Linked DNA regions of Homo sapiens: all the other regions are linked to region 1. Evidence: promoter capture Hi-C in human tissues and cell types (Jung and others, 2019). All regions are on one chromosome and are shown on one strand. Each heading gives the region's core, a stretch centred on a gene start or on the middle of the fragment in contact. The rest is flanking DNA. Distances are from core to core; before and after follow the strand shown. Region 1 holds the start of NXPH1 (neurexophilin 1). Region 2 has its middle 410 kb from the start of NXPH1. Region 3 has its middle 330 kb from the start of NXPH1. Region 4 overlaps NXPH1 (neurexophilin 1). Region 5 has its middle 350 kb from the start of NXPH1.

The links. The method cuts DNA at HindIII sites, captures the fragments that hold promoters and counts their contacts. A contact is called where the count stands out against the background at its distance.
Region 2: a fragment that was not itself captured here is called in contact with the fragment with the promoter of NXPH1 in region 1 in 1 of the 25 tissues and cell types used here (neural progenitor cells).
Region 3: a fragment that was not itself captured here is called in contact with the fragment with the promoter of NXPH1 in region 1 in 3 of the 25 tissues and cell types used here (H1 embryonic stem cells, adrenal gland and hippocampus).
Region 4: a contact is called between a fragment that was not itself captured here and the fragment with the promoter of NXPH1 in region 1, in 2 of the 25 tissues and cell types used here (H1 embryonic stem cells and bladder).
Region 5: a fragment that was not itself captured here is called in contact with the fragment with the promoter of NXPH1 in region 1 in 1 of the 25 tissues and cell types used here (lymphoblastoid cells).

Annotation. Positions count from the first base shown.
Region 1 is chr7:8,432,063-8,436,695 of GRCh38, forward strand. It overlaps NXPH1 (neurexophilin 1), which reads left to right and starts at 1,547. Exons shown (of 3, transcript NM_152745.3): 1 at 1,547-2,693; 2 at 3,542-3,705. The coding sequence starts at 3,652. RefSeq lists enhancers at 2,111-2,658, 2,659-3,206, 3,207-3,754. The HindIII fragment of the contact is 8,604 bases long and covers 1-4,633 here.
Region 2 is chr7:8,837,316-8,841,449 of GRCh38, forward strand. No RefSeq gene overlaps it. Among named protein-coding and RNA genes, the nearest start is that of NXPH1, 410 kb to the left of the region's middle. The HindIII fragment of the contact is 3,174 bases long and covers 152-3,325 here.
Region 3 is chr7:8,766,128-8,770,671 of GRCh38, forward strand. No RefSeq gene overlaps it. Among named protein-coding and RNA genes, the nearest start is that of NXPH1, 330 kb to the left of the region's middle. The HindIII fragment of the contact is 3,150 bases long and covers 557-3,706 here.
Region 4 is chr7:8,743,516-8,747,661 of GRCh38, forward strand. All of the region lies in intron 2 of NXPH1 (neurexophilin 1), which reads left to right. Among named protein-coding and RNA genes, the nearest start is that of NXPH1, 310 kb to the left of the region's middle. RefSeq lists an enhancer at 346-846. The HindIII fragment of the contact is 3,936 bases long and covers 915-4,146 here.
Region 5 is chr7:8,786,163-8,790,690 of GRCh38, forward strand. No RefSeq gene overlaps it. Among named protein-coding and RNA genes, the nearest start is that of NXPH1, 350 kb to the left of the region's middle. The HindIII fragment of the contact is 4,201 bases long and covers 861-4,528 here.

The DNA.
Region 1 (4,633 bases), core at 297-2,796:
AAGGTTTAGAAAAGAACTTGGTATATTCCAAAGCTAGCCGGATTCTTTCTCATTTTCCCAAAGGTCAGACAGAAGTTCAGCTCTGACAGCATTGTAGCTGGGAATCCAGATAGAGGCAGGCAACATTTGCTCCAGCTCTACACTCCAGTCTGGGAGGCCTGGGAGCTCCTGTACAAATAGGAATCAATTTTAGGATAGCCTTATGAATCCTAGAGGATGGAATTAGACAAAGCTTTTTTTGCCCCTGCTTTGACCATTTGGCCTCAGATACGGGTGCCCCAATACTTTAATTTTTCTTCTTTAAAGTTTAAAGTTTTTAAGAAAATGAAATAGCTGGTAAGTGAAAATAGTCAAGAAAACATTGTAATTATGCTATATGTACATGTGCGTTTTTTCTGAAGTGGATTTTCAGAGACACAGTTAGAAGGTGTGCTTCACTGCTTTATTCTGCATATGCCCCAATGAATTCCAGGAGGTCACAGCAGCAGAGTACAACTTTTAAGATTAGAAGAGCTTGCTCTTTAAAGAGTTATTTTTAGCTGGAAGGGAGAGTGTAGACCTCAAAGTGCTGGTAGGTATGTTCTACAGTGGGGATCTAATTTGGAGGTCTTTGGAGATCTGATTCCAGGGGAAGGTCTCAGTGGGGCTCCTCTTGCCTCTGCTGCAGGACTGGGTGGCTCTGCTGATTGTCACTGCCTTGTTTGAGGGGTGGTCTCCATCATCCAGGGGAATTCAGCCTGGGACCTATTGTCTAGAGTGTACATTGTATCTAGGCCCAGACCTGCCAGAGTGTCCACAGCCACACTTGAGGAAAGGACATTCCAGACTCATTAAATATCACAATTCGATTTTGATGTCACTAACTCAGGTTCCTGAGATAAATTTCCATACAATTCCTACAGATTGATATGGATATGTGCATCACCCCAGGAGAGGCTCTGGTGAAGGGCAGGCTTGGAGATGCAATGGGCAAGGTTGGGGAAGAGATACCCTCTTCCGGGTTCCGATTTGTGCCCTGAATTTGGGCAAGCTCAAGGAGCACTGGCAACCCCACCAGCACCAGAAGAAGCTGGTCCTGGCTGTCTCCCGAGACTGGTGAAACTGCTCTGGTGGTGGTGCACTGGAAGGGTGGAGGAAAAAAAACAAAAAACAAAACAGGGTTTGAGGGGGAATGGCAGGGACACGGTAGAGGCACAGAGATACAGAGACCTAGAGTCAGAAATCCTGAGTGAGACACACAGAAAGGCAGAAAAAGGCAGAAAGATGCTGAGGGACAGAGACGCAGACCACAAGAATGACAGAAGAAGGAGACAGAGAGAGAGAGGGAGTGAGAAAGATACTGAGAAATAGGGACAGTAAGGGAGAGACTGAGAAAGACAGAGACAGCCAGAGTCGGAGCACAGAGGCCGAGTCTGGGAGACGCTGGTTGAGTGGGAGGTGTCAGTAGCGAGGGAGGTGGTGACGGCTCGAAGCATCCCCCGTCCTCCTCCTCCCCCTTCACGCTCAGCCCAGCCGGCGGCGAGGAGTCCAGAGGCCAAGGTCGCCCAGTCCTCTCGGCTGTCTCGAGCTGAATGGCTGGCAGTCTGCGGCTCCCCCGCCTCCGGCCCGGCAGCCACAGGTCGGAGGCGCCCGGCGTCGGCGCTCGAGGCCGGCAGGGGCGCCCTGCACCCTCCCGCGCCCTTCCCCGCCCTACGCGACTCCCGGCTGCTCTTCCCGCCACTCCCCTGGGCTTTGCGATCTTCCCTACGCCCCCCGGGAAGGGGGCGCTGCGGCCACCGAAGACACCGCGGGAGCCACTTGTCCCTGTGGGCCCAGCCCGCGAGAGCCTGAGAGCCGGATCTGTTTACACAGGGTACTAATTAGTCTTTGAGGAATCATTCACCCACGTGCCAAAGTAATTGTCCGTGTCAGGAAGGTAGGCGTGCCAAGCCGCGGCTCTGCGGAGAAACCACGACCACCGCGGCCGCCGGAAACCCAAAGCGCTCCAGAGCGTCCCCGGGTGGCCGGGCAGCACCAGGGACAGCGCCCGGGACTCCACTGGGGACCGGCTCCTGGGCTTCCCAGCGTCGCGGGTAGAGGTACAGCTGCTCCGTGTGCCGCAGGCTCCAGATTCTCGCCACCCCACCCCTCCCTCAGAAACTCGGACTGCTCTCGTCTGCCGTGTGGTTCTCTTTTCTTCCGAAAGGCCAGTGTCTTATCTCTCCACTTCAAGTCCAGAGGACTTGCTCAGTCTCCTCCCCTTAAGTCATTTCCACCATCCTCAGGCAGCTGTGGGAAGCCGAGAGTCCTGGACTGTTCGTCCGGGTGCCAGCGCTGGCAGTCCCAGTCCGTCCGGTGCAGCAGCCCGGCGCATTCCCCTCTCTCCCTCCCTCTTGCTCTCCCTCCCTTTCTGTCTTCCTCTCTTTCCTCCTCTACTGCTCCCTCCCTCTCTTGCCTCTTAAGTTTCCTGCACCGTGAATCCAACTGTGCCAAGCCTTGGCTCCCGCGAACCAATCCTGAGCGCGACCCGGGCACTGGGACGGCGACTCCGCCAAAGCTGGACGAGGCAGCCGGACCCGTCTGCGCTCGAGCATGGAGACGGAGCGCCTGGGAGGGCACGTCCGGGGCGCTGGAGACGCCAGGCCCGAGTAGCTTCTCCATGGAGCCTGCCCAGAGCGGTCCCTTCTCGCAGGATTCGCCCCAAGTCCTGTGCGGTACGTACCCTTTGCCTCCGCTGTTCCCGGAGGGTACACCTGGGAGCGGGGTGGTGGGCACGAGGAAGGGACGGCAGGGAGGGGCGCTGGTTAGGAAAGAGAACAAGCCTGGCAGGTGACCCTCACAGCTCGGAGGAGGCTTCTTCTCTAGAAGTTAGCGACCGGCTGTACCCTTTGGCTCGAAAAAAGTAGTGCTAGAGATGTGACTGTGAGCATTCGTGGGTATCTCTGTGTGCGCCAGGGGTTCGAATGGGTAAACTGATCCCTGCTTTCCTGTATGCAAATTGCATTCTCTTTCCCCACCCCCACTTCACCGAACGTGTTGAGGTACCTAGCACCTAATCGCGGTCAGTTCTACCTACCTCTTCCTCTCACCGCGCCCCCCTCGCTCAATCTCTCTCTCTCCCTTTATCTTTCCCCTCTATCTCTCTCTGCTGGTGTGTACGTGTGTGAGCACTGCCAGGGCTGGCGAAGAACCAGCCGCCGCCTTTAGTCCGAGCCGCCGGGCCACCCAACACAAGGGCAGGTCTCGCTGCCGGAGAAGCCTGGGCTCCGAACCAGCCTGCACGCGGCTCAGTGTGCTCCGCCGCCTGGGAACTCGCACCCGAGGAGCGCAGGGGGCAAGGAGCCCCTCACCCTCCCTCTCGTCCGCCCGCCCGCCTCCCCAGCTGCGGACCGCGCGCTTGCTGGTCTCAGGCGCTGGATTTACTCGCTTTTCAATTTTTCGTACCCTCCCTCCCTTTTTTTTTTGGTCCCCCACTCCCCGCTACGACCCCCTTTCCCCGCTTGATTGTCAAGCCTAACCTTGCCCGCGTAGTCATGGGATGTCTAATTTTATTTGCATCTAGGCTGCTGAGAGCGCTCCTTGCTCTGTAAAGTGGATGTCAGGTGGATCTATGTTTCTGAAGGAACAAAGACTCAAAGAAGGCACCGCCAAGGAAGTTTGAGACGCGGGAGAATGCAGGCTGCGTGCTGGTACGTGCTTTTCCTCCTGCAGCCCACCGTCTACTTGGTAAGTCTTGGAAGGTTCGGGGCTTTCGCATTTTTACCCCGGCCGGGAGGCAAGGAAACTGGGGACACGCGGGAGAAGGGTTACGCCGCCAGTTCAGTGAGAGCAGCTTCCTAGCAGCTGTGTTGGAGCAACTTTGGCAAGCTGGTCTCTGGATTCCTGCGGATTTTCCGGGGTTCCCACCCCATTTTCTGCTCCAATCCCCCAGTCTCCTGCGCGTGATTCTTGAAAGGGGCTAGGGCGCCCCAGACACCCTAAACCCAAGGAGGTAGTGAGATGGGGTGCTTTATGTGATAGAGGGCCAACGAGAAGAAGTGGAAGGCAGGAACTCTCAGTAGCTCATGCACAGAGTTTAAACGAAGGGAAGTGGGGGTGTAGTTGGGTGGTGGAAAGAACAAATCTGCCCAGGTCTGTGAGTTTAAAAGTGAATCTACCCACCCACTTCCCCGATTTGGAGATGAGACACATAAAGAAGCGCAGTTAACTTTCTTTGACTTGTAAGGGTTCCGACAGGATAAGTTTAACTATCAGGGGTACTGCAAGCAATCGGAGTTAGGACAGAGATACTCCAGCAAACATGTCCACCTTCCTCTCGTCTCGACCTCCCCTTTTCATCAAATAACTAAATCCCATCTCCAGTGACTAGTCCATTATTAGGGAATGGTAGGCCTTGTCGCCAGGGAGAGAATTCTAAACAAAGCCGCGGTCCTTGTCCTTCAGTAGCAGAGTTTTCCGGGGGGCTGGACTTTGTACACTGCTGGAACTCGGCTCCTGGTTGAAGAGCTTTGTTGTGGTGAATTGGTAGCTGTTTGTGCCATGTTGAGACAAGGAGAATGAGATATTTCAGGTCTGGCTTCTGGGGTGGGAATGGGGGAATGGGGGTAAGGGACACTTGTGCCCTGCTGGTGAAGTTGTGTTCAGTGTCCCGACC
Region 2 (4,134 bases), core at 489-2,988, 410 kb after region 1:
CACTTTTCTTTGCTTCCATTTGTGCTATATACCCAAAGGCTTGGGAAGTTAAAAACATGAGCTTTAGTAGTGAAAGTTCTTGCCAGCGTTGTTTGCCAAGCAACCACATAAAAATACTGAACCCTTGTTTTCTTAGTAACATTTCCTTTCTTCACTGAGAAATGGATAAGTTGCAAGTATTGATTAATTGCATTATAGAACAAACAATTACTGAGAAGCAATTTGATTTTAAAAATTAAGCTACTTGAGGGGAAACTTTTATTAAACCTCATGAACTAATATATCAGCCAGAATGTCCAGACAGTACAGGTTGATTTTTGTTATTCTTGGGCAGCCAGCCTTTGGTATTGGATATAAGATATCATACTCACAGAAGATTAGTGAGTGGCAATTTTTAAATTATAGTAGTTCTTTGCCACATGAAGAGTGTTTAAAAAAATGTTTTTTTGTTCAAATAGCATTGCTCCCTGAAAATGACAAGAATGAAAGAACTAGCTATCCTTTAATTTCAAACAGTGTTATCTCAAGCAACAGTAGTTCAATGATTTTGTTCTTCTTTCTAATGACCTAAGCCCAGGGTAAATGATTTATAATGTTTGCTTCACAGTCACAACAGTAAAATCATATCGTGAAATGATCTCTTCATTTTTCATGATAGATTACTTTGAATAAAATTGCATTTAGGCAATATCCAATATTTACTAGCCTCTTCCAGATATATCTAAATTACAACAAACAGTAGGCTCTTTTTCGCTGCAAATTGCTGTATTTCCGAAACAGAAATTTCTTTTCTTTCTTTCTTATAACCCTTATTCAGATAGTAAAGCTAATTCTAGAAATGGTGATGTCATCTGAATATTATAGTCGATCTCTGAAAAGTAGTTATGCAATAGACCTATAATGTAGGAATACAATAGCTTTTTTAATTTAGCCAAATATACACTTACATGTGCATATTACACGTAAATATATACACACACACACACACACACACACACATATATATATGTACTCTTAGAAATGATCTTGAAACCAAATTTATCTTATAGCCCTAGAGCACTGTAGTTCTAACTAGTAATTAATTTTTAAAGATAGCTTTATGAATTAAAACAGAATTTTAAAAATTTTGTATTTGTATTGATTTAGGGGTACAAGTGTAGTTATATTACATGCATAGTGGTGAAGTCCAGACTTTTAGTGCACCCATCAGACTAACAGTGTACGTTGTAGCCAATAGGTAGTGTTTCATCCCTCAATCCTCTTCCCTTCCCTTTCAAAGTTTCTGATGTCTGTTTATTTCACTCTATATGTCCATGTGTGCCCATTGTTTATCTCCCACTTATAAGTGAGGACACATGGTTTTTGACTTTCTGCTTCTGTATTATTTTACCTAGGAAAATGGTCTCTAGTTCCATCTATGTTGCTACAAAAGACATGGTTTCATTCTTTTTATGGCTGTGTAGCATTCCATGGTGTGTATGTCCCACATTTTCGTTATGCAATTCACTATTGATGGGCACCTAGGTTAATTTCATGACTTTACTATTGTGAATAGTGCTGCAATGAATATATGAGTTTATGTGTCTTCTTGATATAATGATATTTTCCTTTGGGTAGATACCCGGTAGTGTGGTTGCTGGATCAAAGGGTATTTCTATTTTTAGTTCTATGAGAAATTTCCATACTGTTTTCCATAAAAGTCGTACTCATTTATAGTCCCACCAACAGTTTATACTAATTCCCTTTTCTCTGCATTCTTGCCAACATCTATTGTTTCTTGACTTTTTAGTAATAGCCATTCTGACTGGTATGAGATTGTATCTCATTGTGGTTTTGATTTAAATTTCTCTGAGGATTAGTGATGTTGAGCATTCTTTCGTATGTTTGTTGGCTGCTTGTATATCTTCCTGTGAAAGATACCTGTTCATGTCTTCTGACTGCTTTTTAATGGGGTTATTTGGTGTTATTCTTGTTGAGTTGTTTGAGTTCCTTGTAAATTCTGGATATTGGCTCTTTGTCTAATTCATTATTTACAATTATTCTCTCCCACTTTGTAGGTTGCCTGTTTTTAGATTACTTCTTTTGCTGTGCAAAAGTTTTTCAATTAATTAATTCCCATTTGTCTATTTTTGTTTTGGTTGCATTTTCTTTTGAGCATGTACTCATAAATTCTTTACCTTGACCAGTGTCCAGAAGAGTTTTTTTAATAGGTTTTCTACTAGGATTTTTATAGTTTCAGGTCTCATATTTAAGTCTTTAATCCATCTTGGGCTATTTTTTATGGTAAGAGATAGGGGTTCAGTTTCATTGTTCTGCATATGGCTCTCCAGTTTTTTCAGCACTGTTTATTGAATTGGAATCCTTTCTCCAGTGTATGTTTTTGTCGATTTTGTCAAAGATCACTTGGTTGTGGGTGTGAAGCTTTATTTCTGGCATCTCTATTATGCTTCATTGATCTATGTATCTATTTCTATACCAGTACTATGCTGTTTTGGTTACCATAGCCTTCTAGTATAGTTTGAAGTCATGTATTATAAAGCGTCTGGCTTTATTCTTTTTACTTAGGATTGCTTTGGCTATTCAGGCTCTGTTTTGGTTGCACATTAATTTTAGGGTTATTTTTTCTAATGCTGTGGAGAATGATATTGGTAATTTGATAAGAATTGCATTAAATATGTAGATCGTTTTGGGCAATTTGGTCATATTAATATTAATTCTTCTGTTCTATGAGTTTGGCATGTTTTTCCATTTGAAATAAGACAATATCTTATTTGGAGTCTTTCTGTCTGAATTCCAAAATTCATTTACTCTCCTGTATAGCTAAGGGGATTTGAATTGTGTTATGTGAGTGTAAATTAATACTAATTTTAAATAGTAATCTTCAATTATTTTCATAGATGAATATGGTGTACAAAATAAGATATGTGAAGACTGAGCTAGTGTGAAAGTCTCTAGATAAACTGAGAAGATTTTGAGATACTTGTTAATAAATTGCAGTTTATTTGTTGTATAATAAGAGTTTAATGGGTTTCAGGATTTCATTTCTGGATTATTAGTGTTCTATAGGTAAGTTTCATGCAATAAGTATTTGTTTTGTTTCTGAACACACATCAATTTGAGCACCTTACCAAATCTCGCAGCATTGACTTGTTGAGCACTTGGTATAATGAACTAAGTTGCAGGTCATATTTATGCCAGATACAAACTTGTAATTAATTAGTACATAAAATTTTACCTTGAAATATTTTATAAGTAGAATATAAAATCCTGACCTGCAAGGAAAAAATATATATAATGAATGGCAAGAAGGACAATCAATAAGAACTAAGAGAACATTAAAAAATAGTGAGATCATTAGCTCAAGCCCCTCAGACAGTCTTGGTCTCGGTCTAAAGTGATATGGGATTGGAGAGCATTATTATTCTGTAATCATACTTTATGTTTAAGAACTTATTGACACTTTAAAACTGTGAGCTGTTTTGCATGATTTACATGCTAACCAATGATATGAACAGATGAGGGAGGAGGTCATTCATACCTAAGTGTAGGAGCACATTTATTTTGAATATACATTTTATTTTTCCTTTGAGTGGGCTAATTTCTTTTTAGAGAAATGTCACCAAGGATGGAATGAAAAGAAGGAAAAAGAAAAGAAAAACATGTAGACAGAGCAAATATACATAAGAAAATTGAATTAATTAGGGAAAAACAAATTTTATCCCTTGCTGTAGGATTTAATATGACTTGGAGAGTATATCATCTCCGTGAGACCAACTTGAAAAATAAACGAATGGTATTCTAGTTTGAATGTAAAAAGAAGATTAAGTGTCCTGAATATAATAATAAACTCAGAAAAATAATGAAATTCACTCAGATACTAATGTGCAAACACCAGGAGGGCTCTAGGAAAAATATAACAATAAAAATCTTGTTTCATATTAATTGCATCATTTGACAAACTGAACATTGAGTTGCTTATGTCCAGCAGCCCTTACATAGGCAAGATCACAGATGTACTCTGAGATGTTAAAATGCTAGAAATCCATCTTCCCAGGAGGATTTTTGCCAATTAGTTTAGGACTAAAGAATCCTGCCAGGCATGTGGCTGCCCAGCAAGCTAGAGGATCAGAAACA
Region 3 (4,544 bases), core at 882-3,381, 330 kb after region 1:
AAGAGTGATCAGTTTCCAATTTGATAACTAAATGGAAACCATAGAAACATTTATTGAATGCACGTTAGGTCCCAATTACTATCCTAGGCACTTTACACATTCTCTATTTCAATCCTGGAAGTAAACCTGTGAGAGCTATAGATGCAATCACTCATGTTTTATTGGTAGTGAAACTGAGATTCATAGAAGTTAAGAGAGTAGACATTGACAGTCTGATTCCAGACTGGGTGCTCCTTTTGTGCTTTCATTTTGGTCTTAATTTTTGGACATAATTAAACAGAAGTTTTGGTACTAATTTTTTAGTAGTCTGGGAAATATGCTAATATATCTCTGAGTATATATTTTATTTTTTGTTGGTAAAACTATATAAAGAAATTTAAGAACTCTAACATTTATTTATATTTGAAGATGATATGAATATTTCATTTCAGATAATGTACATTAAATATTTCACTCTGATGACCTAGATACATTAACATTGTACAGTAGCATTTGAATATTAACATTTAAAAATGCACTCACTTTTCAATTATACCCTTATTTTGAATTATGGGGTCATGATTAAATATTTAACCAAGAACTCAAAACAATGGCAGAGGTACATAGCTACAGTTTTGATTCGACATAGCTACAGTTGTGATTTGAGGGTTTCTCCCTCAAGGTGACTATTTGCTTCTAGCATCTGCCTAAATATGTAGATGCCTATATGCCTATAATATAGGCATATAAGCATGGATTAGTGTTGATTAATTTTTTTAGGGAACTTAAAAAAATCTTTTTACTATTAACTTATTTAAACCTTTATGTGAGAAAAGAAATTTGTCTATTCATAAGAAAAAGAATGTGCACATAGCATAGTGACATTAGTAGGGCATGATGTGTGAAATAATGTAGACATCTTTAATGCTGTGAAAACCAGGTAAACTATTATTTTTAGTAATTTTTAAATTTTGAGTGAATAAATTGCATAGGAAGACATATTTTAGAGAACATATTGATTTTCGTATAAAACCACTAGTTCATGATATACGACAGATTCAACTGGCAAGCCTAATGCATGGTTATAATTTCTTCTTAATATTCCATTTTTCAACCACTGCTTAGCTTTACCTTACCCAAAATATATTTGTCTTTTTCTGCGTGTTACTGATTTCTCACTCTGTTAGTATTACCAGTATTTGAGGAGATCAAATAATATTTTAAATATTAGGCTCATTATTGCAGTCAATTTTTTTTAAAAAATTACATAAAAAGCAATTATTGAGCCCCTACAATGCTCTAGACATCATAATAGGTGCTGAGAACACCAAACTAATTTTTTAAAAGAAATTCCACATTGTAGGAGGTAAAAACAATTTGTCTCATGAGAGATATAATTATATTATACCATATCATACCAACATGATATGATATAGAAGATAAATTGCTTTGGTGGCCCAGTTGAAGAAATAAAATATCTTGCCTGTAGATAGAATGAGGTGTATTATGGTTTAGATGCTCCTTCTAGTTTGAATGCAAGTAATTTATTTGAAAGGTAGATAAGTGAGACTAGGAAGGACAGCCAATAAAGGGGCTTTAATAATCATAGGTAAGCAAGGGTAATATTTATACATGGGATTGGACACAGAATAAAAATAAGCTGATAATTCTCTGAAAGCCATAACATTAACTGGGAAACTTAAATAAAGGATCTAAGCTTGATTATAAGATGAAGAACAAATAATTTGGGGGGGCCCAGACCGATGCTATTTCTTTTTTCTTTTTTGAGACAGAGTCTCACTCTGTCACCCAGGCTGGAGTGCAGTGGTATGATCTCAGCTTACTGCAACCTCTGCCTCCCGGGTTCAAGCAATTCTCTGCCTCAGCCTCCCGAGTAGCTGGGATTACAGGCGTGCGCCACCAAGCCTGGCTAATTTTTTTTTTGTATTTTTAGTAGAGACAGGGGTTCACCTTCTTGGCCAGGCTGGTCTTGAACTCCTGACCTTTTGATCCACCCACCTCAGCCTCCCAAAGTACTGGGATTACAGGCGTGAGCCACCACACCCAGCCAACTGATGCTATTTCTATAGAGAAAAATGATTGTATGAGCTCTTTGCTGACATATATTTTTCACAATTTTCTTAATTAGTCCAAAGCACCTTGAATGCTAAACTTGAAAATATAAGACCAGTGTGAAGCTAACATTTTCCACTAAGTATATCTCACCAGTGGGCATGTTCTGTGAAGAAAGTAGACAGTTTTGAGTGTTCTTTTTTCCTTAGGATTTGATAAGAATTTGTAACATAGATTGTTGGAGTTGAAAAGTGAGCCCTCAATAATAGCAACATTCTTTTCTATCCATTCTACACAATGTCACAAATAAAGAGTAAATTTGCAGGCCAAAATATCAACTTGCTTATTGATAGAGACTCTGTACGAGGATGTAATTTATTGTAAGAGCCAAATGGGTCTGAAATCCACACCCAAGGACTGGGCTGACTTACCCAACAGTTGGGGAAATATGCTTTTCATGTGGATCACCTTCCCATGGAAGATGGAGTAAGGTGAGAGGAATTTCTACTTTTGGGGGCCAGCTTGTTCTGGGTGGAGCTGAGTTTAACATGCACGGTTATCCTCCTCACATTTGTCAGATATACCACTGTGTTCCCGAGTGGCAGAGATAGTGAAGGAGTAGAGAGAGGCCAAGAGTGTGTGTAGAACAGATTCTCCTTCATAAAAATCAGAATTTGTGTTGGAGAGGTGGCAGGAGAGGGATATTTCCCCTTTTTAAGAGATTATGTAAAAAGATTAGAAAAAAACAGAAAAAATTGATTTAATATTTTTCCTGTTAGAAAAATTTGGGTTTGTTGTTGTTTAGGACAAAATGAGGAAAATTCATTATAACTACTCATAATGATAAAGATATAGAAAATTATAGCATCAGAGTATCCCTTAAATAAAAATTTTCTATTTGTTTAAAATCTGATTATTAACAGTTTGGGCATCACCTTTGTTCTAAACAATAAGTGTAAAGACCAGTTGTAATAACAAACTTAACTAAAATTTAACTTTGCTTCAAATTAGCTTTAACAGTATCACTATATGTTTTAATTTAATATAGCCTACATCATCTTCCAAATTTTTACTCTATAGAATATCTAAGCAGCGAGATGCTCACATTTGAAAAATGGCACAGTCACATTAGTTGGGAAAATATTGAGCTCGTAAAGCTTTGAAGGTCCCAGACTATGACTATGGGGTTTCTTAATTTGAATATAAATTGTGAATAACCTAGAATTTTAAAAACTTGACTACTGTCCTTTCTTTCACAGACTAATTAATAGGACCATTTTTTTTCTGTTTAAAATTCTTTAATGTGTGTTATTTTATTTTGTTCTCAAAGCTATCTTCTCAGGCTGGCATTAAAATCGGAATATGAGAGATGAAAAAACTGAGATGTTAAGCTACATCATGGGTTCAAGGCAGAGGACTAGAGAGCTCGAGTCAAACTGGAGTCTTCTGACTTCCATTCTGTCAGCCTTTCCATTGTGGTGTTTTTATTAAGTACAACGTAAAGTCTGTCTTCATAGAAGGTCAATGCAGTCAATTAAAAAGGGAAACAAAAAAAAAAACATAAGCATTTGATGTAATAATAATGAAAGGAAGCTGACATTATTCAAAATAAATTTTCTCTTACTGAATTGATGAGTAGTTTGGAGGAAGGCAAAAAGGATTGAATTACAGTGTTTTGTGCCAAAGGGTTTTTTTGACCCTGAACCCAGTTTATTTTTCTGACTTTGAGATAAGATGCTGAGGTGGCAATCAAGTTTTCTAGAAAAGGTCTAACATGATATGAACAGAAGAATTTCTCACTTTCTCATATTAGAAAACTTTCCTTTTCACTTGATATTTGAAGATGAAGGGCTCATTGATACATGTTTTCACTAACCCTTAGCTTAAAACTACTCTATAAAAGATTGTGAAGGAAATAAATATGAACCTAATCTTGATTTCTGAAAAGCTATTTCCTGTGAAACAAGAATGGGATAAATTGGTAATGCAACCTTTGTAAACATGATTTTATATTTTTTATGCTAAGGACTATACTCATAGGAGCTTCATCTTCTACTCATTTGCATGATATTTTATGGGTCAAACATCCTCTTCAGCTCAAGCGAGGCTAGTGAAACATTTAGTCTGGAGGAAATTTTTATTTTTGAATAAGCTTTGTGTATCAGCTTATGGTAAAGGATTCTACTGTTTTTGGTCTTTTCATTTTTTTTAAGAGTGTTTTTGTTCAGGATTGCTGTTTACTAGTAGTTGAAAATTGTATGGAAATGCATAGGATTTAGGTCTGTTTTTGAGATGATTTATGTGCAAGTAAATCCTGTAAACCATCACCCTAAAGCATATTCATGGCTTCAAATATCTCTCTGTTTCCATTGCTCTTCTGCAGGCAGGAAGCGTCTCATTTAGGATTCATGTCCTCTGGGAGGGAGAGAAAGTAGTTAGTATGCATTTTTTAGGATATTCTCTTAAAGATTGCTCCCATTATTAAAATGTTT
Region 4 (4,146 bases), core at 1,633-4,132, 310 kb after region 1:
CCCCCAAAATGGTGTCTTTCAACAATATTTTAAAAGATAATGTATTGGCATTATGGCATTATTACTATAAACCTATTATGAGATGATATTAGAACAAGCAGTGTGTAATTATGCTCCTAAGACATGTATAGGAGGAGCTAGAGCAAAGTGTGGCAACTCTTTTTTTTTCTTTTCTTTTTTTTTTTTGAGATTGAGTCTCGCTCTGTGGCCCAGGCTGGAGTGCAGTGGCGTGATCTTGGTTCACTGCAAGCTCCGCCTCCCGAGTTCATGCTGTTCTCCCGCCTCAGCCTCCCGAGTAGCTGGGACCACAGGCACCCACCACCGTGCCCGGCCAATTTTTTTGTATTTTCAGTAGAGACGGGGTTTCAGTGTGTTAGCCAGGATGGTCTCTACCTCCCGACCTTGTGATCCGCCCGCCTCGGCCTCCCAAAGTGCTGGGATTGCAGGCATGAGCCACCGCGCCCTGCCAAAGCATGGCAACTCTTCATGTGCTCACACTTCCACCATCCAATGGTGGTTTTTTCTCTCTAGCCCCAAACTCAGTTTCTGTCCTAGGTATGCTCCTTTGATGTTAGATCTAAGCTTGGTCTTTGTTTAATGTTGAAGAAAATGACCCTTGTCTATGCCCCTATTTGTATATAGTCTCAAAAGAATCATATATTTAAAAATGCATACACTTATGTTAATAATCTTTATGTCTGAATGTTTCTGAAACAATGAGACACATCAAATTTGTGGAAATGGTATCATTGAACTAGAGAGCCAGCTCCTTTGGTAATGGGCATTGGCCACTTTTGACATGGAAAATTATCCTCAGGAAGTATATTTGGTGTTTTCATTATAATATTATAGAAAATATTTATAGAAAAAGGTCCATATGCTTTGGTTTTTTGTTTGTTTGTTTGTTTTTTGGTAATCATCTTTATGCTATAGTCCTTACCACTTCTGATGATCAACTGGCTCCTCTTCTGCCTGTCCTCAAAGTGCTAACATTTTTAAAGATATTCTTAGCATACTTCTTTATTACCACACGTTTCTTGCACAATACCATCTACTCATACTACAAAATCAACATCACCATCCCTCTCATGTCTCCAGACCTTCAGATCCTTGTTCCCAGTTTCCTAGTGGATGGCATCACCAGAATGACTTCCCACAGGCGCTTAATCTCCCAATATTTCTATGAGTTTTAATTTTATTTTCCAGCCAACTTGTTACCACTGTTTTCCTTGCAGATGCAAGCAAGCTTTCTCAACCTTTTTTATGTTTCTATTTAGCCAAGAATCATCAAGCTTAGTTAATCCTACGTCTGAATTATCCCTTAGATCCATCATTTCTTCCTCTTTTTCTCTGCTACTGTTTTGGTTCAGGTTCACTTCTTTTTCAAATGAAATATTGCAATTAGTTATTTAATTAGTCTCCCTTCCTTCAAGGTCTCTATTAAACCACCCTTTAATATCTACTCAGCGATTCTTCTAGAGCCAGGATGACCTACTTAAAAAGAAAACAAAATGAAATGTAGTGACTCCCTATTTCCTGTAAGATTAAGTTTAAATGCCTTAGCAGCACCTTTACGATTTGGCCGTAGCCTGCCTTCTACAAGTTTTTGGCAAGCTCTTCTATTTCTCCTCTAAAGTAATGCTCCCTGGCGTTCAGCAGTAAGAAGCTATTTTCTTTTTTTCCCCTTTCTTTATTGACAAGTGAAAATTGTGTATAATTATGGTGTACAGTATAAGGCTATGAGATATGTATACATTGTGGAATGGCTAAATCAAGCTATTTACCATATGCATTATCTCACATACTTGTTTTTTGTGTATGGTGAGAATGCTTAAAATCTACTCTCTTAGCATGGTCTCACTTAAATGTGGAGTGTAAAAAAGTTGAACTCATAAAAACAGAGTAAAATGGTGGATACCTGGGGGGTGGGGGTGGGTGGAGTAGAGAGATGTTTGTCTATGAATGTAAAATTTTAGTTAGAGAATAATAAGTTTTTTTTTCATTCTTACATTTGACACGTCCTTTCTCTGCTCTGTGCTTTGGCACTGTCTGCCCCGAAACAGAGTCTTGCTCTGTCGCCAGGCTGGAGTGCAGTGGTGCAATCTTGGCTCACTGCAACCTCTGTTTCCCTGATTCAAGCAATTCTCCTGCCTCTGCCTCCCTAGTTGCTGGGACTACAGGCATGTGCCACCACGCCCAGCTAATTTTTTTTTTTTTTTTTTTTTTGTATTTTTAGTAGAGACAGGGTGTCACCATGTTGGCCAGGATGATCTGATCTCTTGACCTCTTTATCCTCCTGCCTTGGCCTCCCAAAGTGCTAGGATTTCAGGCGAGAGCTACTGTCCCCGGCCCTGTTCTTTATTCTTGGAAGAACTCCTCTGGCCCATGCACTAGCTGTTAAAGTACCAAGCCTCTTTTATCTACCACATCTAAGGATCATCTCTTCTGTTATACCTTCTCTACCTTTCAACTTTGACTATGATTGCTGGAATGTTACACATAGTGCTGGTTGCATCACACTGTGATGGCTTAATTGATGCCTCCAGTAGACTGTGAACTTCTCGAGAGCCAGGACCATGTGCCATTGATGTTTGCATTTCTTTATTCCACTCAATATTCTTGTAGTCTCACTATACAGCTATTTTGTTAATAAGACAAAAGAAATTGGAGTTGTTAGTCTTGAACAGCTCTGGGGACTTTGCTAAGGAACCTTCCTGTTTTTTTCCAGATTTATATTCTCTTTTAGACATTGCCCTACTCCCTTCCTAAGTAAAAAGCAAGGACTGAGGGAATAAGAATATTTAAGACAGTGTTAATGATGATTACAGCTGAAACCTGCTTTGATTCTTTACCCACACTGAGATGTTCCAGAGAGGCTTCCTGACTGTCAGCACCACTTGAAGCCTTTCCCATTATATCACTGAAGGCAAATAATTCATTGCATTTGGAAGCTAAGCTGTTTAATAACAAAGGATGAGCATAATTTTAGCTAACTTGAGTTCAATCACTTACTTTATTTGCCATATATTTAGGCAGTCACAGCAGCACTTTCAAAAATATATGCTTGCTTTCTTTCCTTTTCAACATTTCAATTCATGTTACATTGTTTGGAGTTCAATATATATTGATGCTATCCTTAATATAAATTTAAAAAATTATTTTATTGTGGTATGAGCACTTAATGTGAGTTCTACCCTCTTAACAAATTTTTAAACTGTAAAATACAATATTGACTATAAGTACAAATGTTGCAAAGCAGATCTCTAGAATTTATTTCAACCTGATTAACTAAAACTTTATGCTCATTTTCTCCCCATTTTCTTCTCCCCCGCTTTCCCCCACAGCATGCTTTTTTTTTTAATTGTTTGCTTTATGTTTGTGGTTATATTGAAGGGAGATTTTCTTTCAAGAATGCTTTATGCTCTTAAATCCGATTATAAATTAATAATTTACATAAAATATTATGTAGTGAGATTCAGAGGTAAAAATATCTGGTGATGACAACAGCTAAGACGACTATTGAACAGTGTTCCAGGTACTGTCCTTAGTAATTTGAATGGAGTGCCCTATTTAATCCTCACAACAGCCCTGTGAAGAAGATTGATATTATTCTTCTATTCCCTAGAAGAGAGAAACAGTGAAGCTTAAACAAGTTAAGTAACTTGCCCACATCACACAGCTGTTAAAGATCAGAACCTGGACTGGGATTCAGGCAGTCTGACTCCAGAGTGCACTCCCATAATTACTACAGCTGTGGATAACATAATTTAGAACTAAACAATTTTTATTCTACCTGAAAATCAGAGGTTTGTCTGTCAGAGGAGTCTTAGCAACTTTTTGAATAGATTGATTCTTCCTTCTTGAAACCATATTCACTACTTCCACAAGTTTTACTTTCATTTCCCCCTATGCTACTGGTAAATTGAGCTGTAAATCCCTCTTTTCCTCCTTCTTTGGGATAATTTCGTTACTGCTTCATTAGCCAGTGCATCATGAAAGCATCTCAATACAGCCCTTTGCTGATGCTGAGATATAAGCACTAAGCCACTACTAAATGCATTCCTGTATTTATTCTTTTTGCCACACAAACAATGGGAAACTGTCTAGATAATTCCAGGCAAAAGCCAGAGAAGAGGATACACATGT
Region 5 (4,528 bases), core at 1,711-4,210, 360 kb after region 1:
AAACACGTAAATTTAACCCTTCTTGCCTTTTTTGTGTGGAAAAAAAGCTTTCTGGAGTTTTTTTCTCCACTTTAGTGTGTGTGTAAGGATGAGCGTTGATAGTTGCAGGAACATATTGTCTTCCCTGTGGGTGATCCAGGATTATAACTAGGGGCGAAGGATAATGGTCTTCTTGTCCACACGGCTTCTAGCTTTGGGTGAAGTAGCAGTAGAGCTGATGGGAAGGCACTACCATTCTGATGTTGGAGTAATGGCTCAGCAATGGAAATATTCAAACTAGCTTTCAAAGGATTTATATAATTATGGTTTGACATATGGCCTCATCTCAGGAGCTATCTTCCCTAAATGATGCCCCCTCCGTTGAACATCTGTTTTGGTTTGAAACTGGCAGAAAAATAAAAAAACACCAAAAATTTAAAAAAAGACCATTTACAAAATTAAACCTATGTTTTTTCAAGCCCTTGATGCCAAGGTTTCCACAGAGGTATGACTAAAGCACAGATGAATACCAGAATAAGGCTCAGTGGCCCATTCCCTTTGAACTAAAACAGTTTCATAATCTTGAGTGATTTATAATCTATATGGAAGGTGGACCATTATCTTTCACATGTCAATTCATTGACTTCCTTATTTCCAATGACTTCCTTTTCCTCTTCACCTTAACAACCTACTTTCTTCTTCATGCCTTGCCCCTATAAGTGCCCCATCCTGTAACTGCTAATTCAAGGATCTAACTTCCTGACCCAATTCTCCTCTATTTTCAGCATACTTGTTCAGTAGTTCTCATTATGCCCATCCATAGATCTTTTTGGCTCCTCCTATTCTGCCAACTCATTTTCCAGTTCATCATGTTTCCCTTCTATTCGCAACCCTTATATTCAGTTTAAACTTTAAGTTATATTACATCAATAAAGTCACTATTATCATAAATTCCTTTTCACTTTCTTTTTGTCACATCTCTATGGCAGAATCCCATTCCTAGATGAAGCCAACTGTCTGCTTTACTTGTACTGGTGCCCAGGTAGCACAAAGGTCTTTGAGAAAATATTATAATATAACATACTTTTTCTTCTAAAAATCATAACATGACTTCAGACAAACTCTTAGTATTGTTGGCAATCATGGTTCGTACCTCTGGGCAATCTTCCCACTATGCACATTGATATTTCAAAGTTTCTATACTCTTCTCAGATGTCTAATATATACATTCCCACTCAATTCCTCAATGTCAGCGTATTATCTTATTTTCTATTTATAGAGGGAAAAAAAGAGAAATAGACAAAAGAATAACCAATTCCCAAATGTCGCTGTACTTCTACCCATCGTCCTCTCCCTCTTACAGTGGAAGAACTGGTCCTTCATGTCCTCCTGGCCAAGACTAAAGTGACTCCATCTGTTTTCTCAGAAACTGTAGGCTATTGCTTGTCTTCTTACCTTTTCCTTTTAATTACATCCAATACCCCCATCTACTGGACTATTTGCAGTGACAATTGAGCATGTTCAAATCACTTCTACCAAAACAAAACCAAAAAACAACAGCAAATAACTTTTGTAGCACATTTCTCAAAGAAATTGTCCATGCTCAATTAGTATTTGAATAAACAAAGACATTATTTGAAAATATTTGGCTTATCAAAATATTTCATTTTGAGAAGGACTTTCACTGCGTAAAAGCTTTAAATCTAAATGTATATTTATTGAATTTCTACTGTATTGAGTATTAGGGAGATAGTATATACAGGAGAGTTCTCTCTATTTATCGATGGGCTTACTGTCTAGTAGGGAAGACTGGCAAGTAAACATTAACAACACAACTTTATTTATGCTATATAAATGTATATGTATGGACTATGGAAGCATACACAAAAGCAACTGAAAATTTAAAATGAAAATACAACATAATTTTTACTGAGGTAGGGTAAAATTAAGACAAATGTGCTTTTAACTTAAAATGAGAAATGTTCTCCTTTTAAACTTTTATCTTAGGTTCAGGAGTACATGTGCAGGTTTGTTATATGGGTAAATTGCATGTCATGAGGGTTTGGTGTACAGATTAGTTCATCACCCAGGTAATAAGCATAATACCCAATAGGCAGTTTTCCTATTCTTCTCCCTTCTTCCATCCTCCACCCTCAAGTAGGACCTGGTGTCTCTTGTTTCCTCCTTTGTGTGCATGTGTTTTCAGTGTTTAGCTCCCACTTATAGGTAAGAACATGGAGTATTTAGTTTTCTGTTCCTGCATTAGTTCCCTTAGAAAAATGGCCTCCAGCTCCATTCATGTTGCTGCAGAGGACAAGATCTTGTACTTTAGCATGGCTGCATAGTATTCCATAGTGTATATATACCACATTTTCTTTTTCTAGTCTACCATTGGTGGGCACTTAGGTTGATTCCACATCTTTGCTATGATGAATAGTGCTGCCATGAACATATGCATGCAAATGTCTTTATGGTAGACCCATTTCTATTATTTTGAGTATATACCCAATAATGAGATTGCTGAGTTGATGGGTAGTTCTATTTTTAGTTCAAGAACTCTCCAAACTACTTTCCACAGGGGCTGAACAAATTTATATTCCCACCAACAATGTAGAAGCATTTTCTTTCCTCTGCAGCCTTGCCAATATCTGTTATTTTAAAACTTTTTAATAATATCCATTCTGACTGGTATGAGATGGTATCTCATTGTGATTTTGATTTGCATTTCTCTGATGATTAGTGAGGTTGAGTATTTTTTCATATATTTGTTGGCTGCTTGTATGTCTTCTTTTGAGAAGTTTATGTTCTTTACCTGCTTTTTAATGGGGCTATTTGTTTTTTTATTCTTGTTGATTTGTTTATTTTCCTTGTGGATTCCAGATGTTACTCCTTTTGTCAGGTGCATAGTTTGTAAATATTTTCTCCCATTCCGTAGGTTGTCTGTTCATAGTTTCTTTTGCTGTTCAGAAGGTCTTTAGTTTAATTCCACCCTGATTGTCAATTTTTATTTTTGTTGAATTTCCTTTTGAGGACTTAGTCATACATTATTTCCCTACACCAATGACCAGAAGAATATTTCCCAGGTTTTTTCTAGGATTTTTATAGTTTTTGTTTATAAATTTAATTCTTCAACTAATTTTGAGTTCTTTTTTGTATATGGTGAGAGGTTGGGGTCCAGTTTCATTCTTCATAACCATACCTCATATGGTTAGCCAATGAGGAATCCTTTTCCTATTGCTTATTCTTGTTTACTCTGTCAAAGATCAGTTGGTTGTACATGTGTGGCTTTATTTCTGGGTTGTCTATTCTGTTCTATTGTCTATGTGTCCATTTTTGTATCAGTACCATGCTGTGTTGGTTACTGTAGCCTTATAGTATTTTAAAGTCTTGTAATGTGATGCCTTCACCTTTGTTCTTTTTTCTTAGGATTTCCTTGGCCATTTTGGCTCTATTTTAGTTCTATATGAATGTTAGAATAGTTTTTACTAATTACTTGAAGAATATCTTTGGTAGTTTGGTAGGAATAGCATTGATTCTATAAATTGCTTTGGATAGTATGGTCATTTTAACATTATTGATTCTTTCTACCCATAAGCATGGAATGTTTTTGCATTTGTTTGTGTCATCTCTGATTTATTTGAGCAGTGTTTTATAATACTTGTTATAGAGATATTTTACCTCTCTGGTTAGTGATATTCCTACTAGGTATCTTATTCTTTTCTTGGTATTGTGAATAGGATTACATTCTCATTGTGTATAGGATTTTGTGAATGGGCTATTGTGACTAGGATTTGGGTCTCAATTTGTACTTTGTTGGTGCATAGAAATGCTACTGATATTCTTACATTGATTTTGTATACTGAAGCTTTGCTGAAGTTGTTTTTCAGATCTAGGAGCTTTTCGGCAGAGACTATGGGGTTTTCTAGGTATAGAATCATATCGTCTGCAAACAGATAGTTTGACTTCTTCACTTTTTATTTGGATGCCTTTTCTTTCTTTCTCTTACCTGATTGCTCTGGCTAGGACTTCCAGTACTATGTTGAATAGGAGAGGTGAGAGTGGGCATCATTTTCTTGTACCATTTCCCAAGGGGAATACTTCAAGCCTTCGCCCATTCAGTATGATGTTGGCTTTGGATTTGTCATAGATGGCTGTTATTGTTTTAAGGTATATTACTTCAATGCCCAGTTTATAGGTAGTTTTTAATATTAAGGGATGTTAAAATTTTTCAAAAGTCTTTTCTGTGTCTATTGAGATGATCATGTGGTTTTTGCTTAAGTGATGAATCACATTTATTGATTTGTGTATGTTGAACCAACCTTGCATCTCAGGAATAAAGCCAACTTGGTAGATTAGCTTTTTGTTGTGCTGTTGGATTTGGTTTGGTATATTTTGTTGAAGATTTTTTTGCATCTATGTTCATCAAGGATGTTGGCCTGAAGTGATCTTTCTGTGGGTGTCTCTGCCAGGTTTTGGTATCAGGATGATGCTGGATTAATAGAATGAGTTAGGGAGGAGTACTTCCTCCCTAAGAGAATAGTTTTTAAGA